Regions from separate parts of the Homo sapiens genome. Here region 2 is linked to region 1. Evidence: promoter capture Hi-C in human tissues and cell types (Jung and others, 2019). All regions are on one chromosome and are shown on one strand. Each heading gives the region's core, a stretch centred on a gene start or on the middle of the fragment in contact. The rest is flanking DNA. Distances are from core to core; before and after follow the strand shown. Region 1 holds the start of PPARD (peroxisome proliferator activated receptor delta). Region 2 overlaps TCP11 (t-complex 11).

What was found. Contacts are between HindIII fragments. The study calls those that stand out against the background at their distance.
Region 2: a fragment that was not itself captured here is called in contact with the fragment with the promoter of PPARD in region 1 in 2 of the 25 tissues and cell types used here (aorta and liver).

The regions. Positions count from the first base shown.
Region 1 is chr6:35,341,308-35,345,235 of GRCh38, forward strand. PPARD (peroxisome proliferator activated receptor delta) reads left to right here and starts at 1,251. Exons shown (of 8, transcript NM_006238.5): 1 at 1,251-1,374. RefSeq lists silencers at 1,103-1,312, 1,493-1,632, 1,663-1,712. The HindIII fragment of the contact is 18,171 bases long and covers 1-3,928 here.
Region 2 is chr6:35,114,927-35,118,854 of GRCh38, forward strand. It overlaps TCP11 (t-complex 11), which reads right to left. Exons shown (of 10, transcript NM_001370687.1): 10 at 3,149-3,575. The coding sequence ends at 3,343. Among named protein-coding and RNA genes, the nearest start is that of TCP11, 24 kb to the right of the region's middle. The HindIII fragment of the contact is 6,471 bases long and covers 1-3,928 here.

The sequences.
Region 1 (3,928 bases), core at 1-2,500:
GGAGGTTGACATCTAAGTTACAAATATAATGCACAAGCATTTCAAAAAGTAGGGGAAAAAAAAGAAAAAGAAAAAGAGAAGCAGAAAGAAGGGGGAAAAAATCACTCATCCCTGCCAGGCACGGTGGCTCACGCCTGTAATTCCAGCACTTTGGGAGGCTAAGGTGGGAGGATAACTTGAGTCCAGGAGTTCAAGACCAGCCTGGGCAACATGGCAAAACCCTGTCTCTACTAAAATTACAATAATTAGCTGGGCGTGTGGCGCATGCCTGTAATCCCAGCTACTTGGGAGGTTGAGGCAGGATAATCGCTTGAACCCGGGAGGCGGAGGTTGCAGCGGGCTGAGATTGCGCAACTGCACTCCAGCAGGGGCGACAGAGTGAAACTGTGTCTCAAAAAAAAAAAAAAAAAAAAAAATCACTCATCCAGATAGCTAGGTGTGGCCTAAGGAGCTTGCGGCCTACGGAAGGTGTGGCCGAAGGAGAGGGGAGGGGTCATCTTTAATGATGATGGAGGGGAGGCATTGGTCATATACCTGAGAGTCAAGCTTTGTTCATCGTCAGATGAAAGCCAACTTCTTCCACCAGATTGCCTCCCAGCTGCTAGGTAGTTTCCTGTGGTACATCTTAAGCGGTAGGTTGGGATAATAGGTCCCTTCCAGGTCTTAAAGATGTGGATTAATAAGAACAGAATTTTCTACAACAATAAGGAGGATGTCCCCTATTTTAGGTGAATAAGCGTATTGCATAAGCACATGGGAAGAAAGGTTAAGAACTCTAAGACCGTAAATTTCCAGTTGTAGAAGCCTCTTGAAGGCGGAAAGCCCTTTTTTGAAAATTATAGGCGATATGATCTCCTCCAGTGGACCTAGCACTGGGTTAAGAGTCTCTCCAGACTTGTCACTGCAAGTCACGTACCTTTTCTAGGACTAAGTTTCTTCACTGGAAGATGAGGAGGTTGCACTAGATGACCTAGAAATTCCCTTCCAGCTTTAAATTCCCTCTTGTGTCACTTGCTGGACTTGTTCTACTGGACCTGGCGCTCCCCTGCTCCTCCCTTAGCTGCTACGTCCGCATCCCGCACCAGAGGGCGCCACAGGCTGGCCCGGGGCAGCGTGCGGTGGGCGGAGAGGCAGAATTAGGGGAGTCTCCAGGAGGCGTGGTGATTGGCCGCCGCCGGGCGGAAGGGGGCGTGGGGAGGGAAAGGCCGAGCAGCGCGGTGACGTCTCGCTGGCGGGGGCGGGGCCGGGCCGCGGAGCGTGTGACGCTGCGGCCGCCGCGGACCTGGGGATTAATGGGAAAAGTTTTGGCAGGAGCGGGAGAATTCTGCGGAGCCTGCGGGACGGCGGCGGTGGCGCCGTAGGCAGCCGGGACAGGTCAGTCCGAGACGAGAGAAGCGGTCAGGCAAGTGGCGGAGGGAAGCGCCGGGCCTGGGCCGAGGCGGCCAGCGGGACTGGGGCGCAAGGCCCGGCGGCGGGGAACGGGGTGCGGGGAGCTGCCGGGGTCCGCGGACAGCGTCACGGCGGCTTCCTGATGCTCCGGCCCGCTCCGGTCAGCCGTCGTGCGTTGCCATGTAGGCGCCCCGCTGACCCTGCGCCCCCCCGCCCTTGGACCCCCATAGCTGCTTGAGTGAGTCCGAAATACGGGCCTCCTTCCACCCTACTCTTTGCCCCCTCTTGGGCCTGGTGGCTTCGTCTTCTCCCACTTGTGAGAACCCCGTCTCAGGCCCGGGGGCCTCTCCCATTCCCCTCCCCTGCCTCTGACCTCTTCCTTCACCCGTTTCTGGTGTTCCTGAATCCACTGCCCTATCTAGCGAGAGTCTTCTCTGGGATCTTTTCCTCTGTCCCCCTCGTTATCCTTGTCTCCTGCCTTCATCCTCCCATCCTTGCTCTCTCAGGCTTTACTCTCTCTCCCCATCCCTGTCCCCTTCTTATCTGTGGTCTGATCCCTCCTAGTATTATGGGTCCCCATCCTCTTCCCCAGGGTGTTCCTAGGCTTTTTCCAACTCCGTGCCTGCAGTCCCTGTCTCCCTAAGACTCTCACCTTGGTTCCCTGAGAGGCCCTGTTTTTGCTCCTTTTTCCGATTTCCTTCGTATCAATTCTGTCCCCTACATTCCTGTCGCCCACCTCCTTTTCTCTCCCTGTTCCTTTCCCCTGCTTCAGGGAGAAGCCTTAGCTCCACACTCTACTCTACTTTCACTTGACCTGCAGTTGACATAACCATGGGGTGGGGGTGGAGGTGTTCAGACCTTGATCGAATTAAGAGGCTGATTGACTAAAGGAAATAACAGATTGTGTGGGAGAATGTACGTGGGTGTTGCATCAGAGATGATGTCCAATTTGTAGGCCATTCTTCTTATCTCAGCTTTAATACTTCCCCTTTATGGGGCTGTTGACTTCCAGGAACCCTTGGGGGAGACGGCGCTGAGCTGGATGTGTGCCACGGGTAGCCGGAGGCTTTGTCCAATTCTTTTCCCCTTCCAGGAACCGGGGTTTTGTGTCTTTCCACTCTGGATGTGTGGAATACACTTATACCATGATACCCCAGCCTCTCTCTGCCCTCACTCCCACCCTCCACCCTGTGCTCCATCCGAAAGGACTAAGAGAATTCTCCAGAAGCTGTGCTCCAGAAAATACTTGTGGTCCTCAACCTTTTTTCTGTGTACTGGCTCCAGAACTTTTTTTTTTCCCGTTTGAGTTTTGAAATAGATTGCTGGCCTGATAGCCCTGGGGCTGGCGGGCATCTGTCCCCTTTTATTATTGGTGGCTTGAAACAGCTGCTGATTTTCTCTCATATCTCTTTGACAATCTTTGGCCAACTGAATGTGCCTCTGATGTTGGTCACTGAACATGTTCTCTTGGAGTCTCTTCTCCCTCTTTTTTCTTTGTTCTTTTCTGAATCTAGGGAATCCAAATTGTCCCTCTTTTTCCCTGGGAGCTTAATTTCCTCTGTATCCAGGAGGAACGGCAATCCCAGAGCTCTGTTCCCTTTGCCCAGGCATAGTATGAGGTATCAGATTGATAACTACCCTGGTGGGCTGTGGGGCTGCAGTAGTTAGACCTTGTCAGGAACTTGAGCAGACACATCTGCTTCCAGTCACATAGATCATCTTCTCTGGGGCTTGAGAGCCCACCACCTTCCATGTGTGTCTGGATGTTTAACCTTACCAAGCAGAAGATTCTCGTCATATCCTTCAGTTTGAGCTCCTTTATTTGGCGTTGGTTCTCTAAAGAAGTATTCAAGAAATAACATATCCTTTGTTTCTACCCAGTCTGATCTTGGAGGATTCTGAAAGCGTGACCCACTCTCATGTTTAGAAATGAAGGCTCATTGTTTCACCTGGCCCCAGGTTTCTAGGGGCTCCTCTTTTGATGATTGTGCTGTCTTTGAGCCAGATTGGACATGGGAGTTGGCAACCTTTAGGAGCTGCGGTGGAGAGCCAAAGGAACCAGCTTGACCAGACTTTAAAGTTTTGTAATCCTCTTGTACACTGTTTTCTGTGAAAGCAATAGGATTGTGGATGGCCTGTTGTTGAGCCAGTCCCTTCTCCACTGACCCCCAGACCCCCTTTGCAGCACTTGCAAAGATTTGGGTAGACTGGACCAGAGGGTTTTCCTTGTTCCTGTGAATAGCATCTCTCCAGGGTTTTAGTGGATCATTCTAAAGAGGTAGAGGTCAAGTGTTGGACAGATTTTTAGTCTAGTCTCTGGCTTTCAAGGACTCCTCCTTACTCTTTTGAGCAGTTTGTTACTTCTGGCCGTGCTTACCCCTTAGTAGTGCTCTCTGCTGTGGTGGCAGGTGAGAGATTTGAGAACAGGTCAAGGCCAGTCCTTGTGGAGCAGCTTGGGCACCAGCAGCCCTAGATGGATAGCTTCTTGCAGTTTGTCCACTCTCATTTTCTGAGAAGGTAGTCATGATTGTCAATTACC
Region 2 (3,928 bases), core at 916-3,415, 230 kb before region 1:
AAAGGTATTTATGAAAAATCCATAGCTAACTGTATACTCAATGGTGAATGACTGAAAGCTTTCCCCCTAAGATCAGGATGCAAGACAAGTGCTTTTATCACTGCTATTAGACATTGTACTGGAAGTTCTAGCCAGAGAAATTAGGCAAGAAAAATAAATAAAAGGGATCAGAATTAGGAAAAAAAAATGCAAAACTATTCCTATTCTCAGATAACATGATCTCATATGTAGAAAATACTAAAGAATTCACAGAGTATTTGATATAATAAACTCAGTGAAGTTGCAGGGTACAAGATCAACAAACAAATTGGTTTTACTTTTATACACTGCCAATGCACAATACGAAACAGAAATTAAGAGAACAATTCTATTAACAATTACATCCAAATGAATAAAATACTTAGGAATAAATTTAACCAAGGAAGTGCAAGGCTTGTACACTGAAAACTATAAAAGGTTGCTGAAAGAAATTAAAGACCTAACAAAAGGAAAAGACATTCTGTGTTCATGGATGGGAAGACAAGATAGCAATACTCCCCAAATTTATATATATATATCTCCTTATCAAAAATTCCAACTTCCTGTTTTACAGAAATGGATCCTAAAATTCATATGGAAATGGAAGGGATAGCCACATAATCTTGAAAAACAACCAAGCTGGAGAACTTATACTTCCTAATTTCAAAACTTACAAAGCTTACAGTAATCAAAACAATATCTTACTGGCATAAGGATAAACATATAGATAAATGGCATAAAATAGAGTCCAGAAATAAACCCTTGCATATATGGTCAATCGATTTTTGACAACAGTCAAAGACCAAGACCATTCATCAATGGGAATAGGACAGTCTCTTCAACAAATAATGCTAGGAAAACTGGATGTCCACATACAAAAGAATAAAGCTGGATCTGTTCCTTACACCATATACAAATACTAACTCAAAATGGTAGTTTCTCAATAAATTAAGCAGGGATTACCATAGAACTCAGCAATTCTATTCCTGGATATATGGGTAGACACTCAAAAACATAGAAGACAGGTGTTCAAACAAAAACTTATGTATGAGTTTTGTAAATAACGCCAAGTGTTCACTGTGGCATTGTTTACAAAAGCCAAAATGCTCAGCTCTATATGTTGAAAGGTACACATAGCCAGAGAAGAGAAAACTAAGGGCTTGCTGGCTTCTCAGCTAGTTGAGGGCTGAAGTCATACCCATGGACTAATGAGTGGATAAGCAAAATGTGGTATATTCATGTGACAGAATATTACTTAGCTATAAAAAGAATGAACTACCAATACATGCTAGAACACAAATGAATGTTGAAAAATGAGTGAAAGAAGCCAGTCACAAAAAGCTACATATTATATGATTCCATTTATAGGAAATATTCAGAGTCAGAAAGCCCATTGAGACAGAAAGATTAGTGGTTGCCAGGGGAAGGGAATGGGGGAAAATGGGCAGTGACTGGTTACTGGAATGGGATTTCCTTTGGTGGTGATGAAAATGTTCTAGAACTAGTTAGTCGTGATGGCTGTACAACATTCTGAATGTACTCAATGTCACTAATAGCTTTCATATTACATGTATTTTCTCCACAATTTAAAATACAAATATACATTTTTTTAAAATTCCCTCAAACCAGTGGGCAGGATTGAATGGAGCTATCTTTCCTTGTTTAGGGACAAGATCCCTGTCTCCTCCATGAGAAAGCATAAGAAAATAAATTCAAATTTTCTAAGGTACTGATGAGTCCCTATTTTAATTGTGAAGTACAAAGCAAGGTTCTATTATCAGTCCAGGGTCTGCACCTGCCAACTGGACAATCTTCTTCCCAGGAATCCCTTCAGAGTACTTTTACCTCTAAAATAATGAGGTTTCCAAAACGTGGATTTTTTAAAAATTCAAATTAATAGTTACAAATCAGAGAATCCAACTGGGCAAGCCTCACTGTTTATTAAACATACCACTTTATCTGGGCTTCCCCATCCTGAAGCTGTCTAGTTATAAGACGAAAAATGCAAATGATCCAGGCCCTCCAGCTTTTCTAGTCATAGTAAAAGTCACATTGTGTTGATCTAGCTCTGTCACCTACCTAGGATCTACCCTCTAAAAAAGGAAATCAATTAGAAGGAAACACTGGGCCTAATGGAACTCAAATCCCCCTTCTGTTGTTCTTCCTAGATTAGGTGTGTTAACACTCAGCAACTTCCATCACCTAAAATGATGAGAACATTGTTTTTCTTCACCTTGCCTTGAGAACACATAATTGAATTTCCATTTTCTAAATCTGAACTGAACATTTTCTTCATTTCAGCCATACTAGGTTGGAGCTGGTCTGCTGCAGTCAGCCTGAAAATGAGTTGGTCTCTACAATCTCAGGAGACAAGCCCAAATCCTTCCTAGAACCTCTCTTATTTGTGATGCCAACAACAGCTTACAACCACAACTGCCCAGAATGGAGAAGCCAGAAGGATGGAGGCTGCTCCACCTCTGAATGCCCACATCACCTCTGCCTGGAAAAACCGGGTGTTCTAAGCTTAGAGATGAGGGAAAGGAGACTTACTGGGCTAGAGAACAGGACCAGAATAAACTTGATACAAGTGAGTCACAGACCTAACTGTCCAAGTCTGAACTCTGGATAACTTGAGAGAGAGGTCCCATGAACTCTGAACTTGTCCTCAACAGAATGCTTGCTTGTAGCCAATATCCATTTTCATCCAGCCCCGGGTATGCATATTGCTTCAGACCATGCAACAGAAGAGGAAACTAAGGCTCTTAATATCCCTTGACTTCTTGTTGCATTCTCTGAAACCTTTAGGGAAATTTGGTCCTAGAAATGAACTAACTTCCCTAAACCATGTCCTCTCCTGAGGTGAACTGGACAAAACAAAGGCTTCCAAAAGAAACCCTTATATTCACAATTTGGATAATTCCAGAGGTCTAAGAGCTCCCCAGGAGTAATGCTTTACCCTTAAAGAAAATAAGGCTAGCACCTGGGTATCTTGGCTGTTCAGCTCTATATGTTGAAAGGTACACATAGCCAGAGAGGGGAAAACTGAGGGCTTGCTGGCTTCTCAGCTAGTTGAGGGCTGAAGTCATTAGGGCTTGGCCTCAGCTGCAGCACAGGAAAAATGGAGGATTTCTTGCACTTAAGAAGTTTATTAATGAATGGGTATGGACCAGTTGGTGTTTACATGCTTGATCCCTACAGCCTTGGTGTACTGGCTGCAGGGCCTGGGATAGAAGCTCACTGTCTGCTGGTCACTGGTGATGTTACTCCAGGAAGATGATGGGCCTCCTCTTGGGTCCAAGGTACCAGGGCTCTGAGCCGACGCTATCAAACAGACTCCACTTTTGTTTCCAGTGCCTGGGCTGGGGAAATGAGGGTTTTTAGGATCTCAGTGTAGTAGGGACCAAACACCTGCTGATTGTGATGTGTCAAGTTGACAAACTTTTGGCCCAGTTCTGCCAGTTCTGCTTCAATGAGAGTAAGGCCTCCAGGAAGGTCTAATAGAGACCGCTGCACACCAAGAACCAAACAGCATTTGAGAAACAAATGGATCCGCTGATCTGTGAGCAGGAAAAGACACTGATAAGGGAAAAGGCAAACAGATTTCAGGGAGAAAATTCCCCCTGCACTCTACTCACCCATGTTCTAAGTTAACAGATATGTACCAACCTGCCCCCCTACCTAGAGATAATGAAATTTGTTTTGTTTGGAAAGGGGGCTGCTATCTTGCTCTCAAGGACAAATATAAAAAACTAGTGTGTTAGTAAATTTCAGATTATTCAAAAGATTGTTTAAGTAGCCATCAGTTAGATCCTAGTGAGTGTTTGACATAACAGGAGGAACTTAGACTGATCCTTCAGATGGCTAAGGTTAGGAGCAGGCTGGCCAAGTTCATGGCCTCCACTCCAGCATG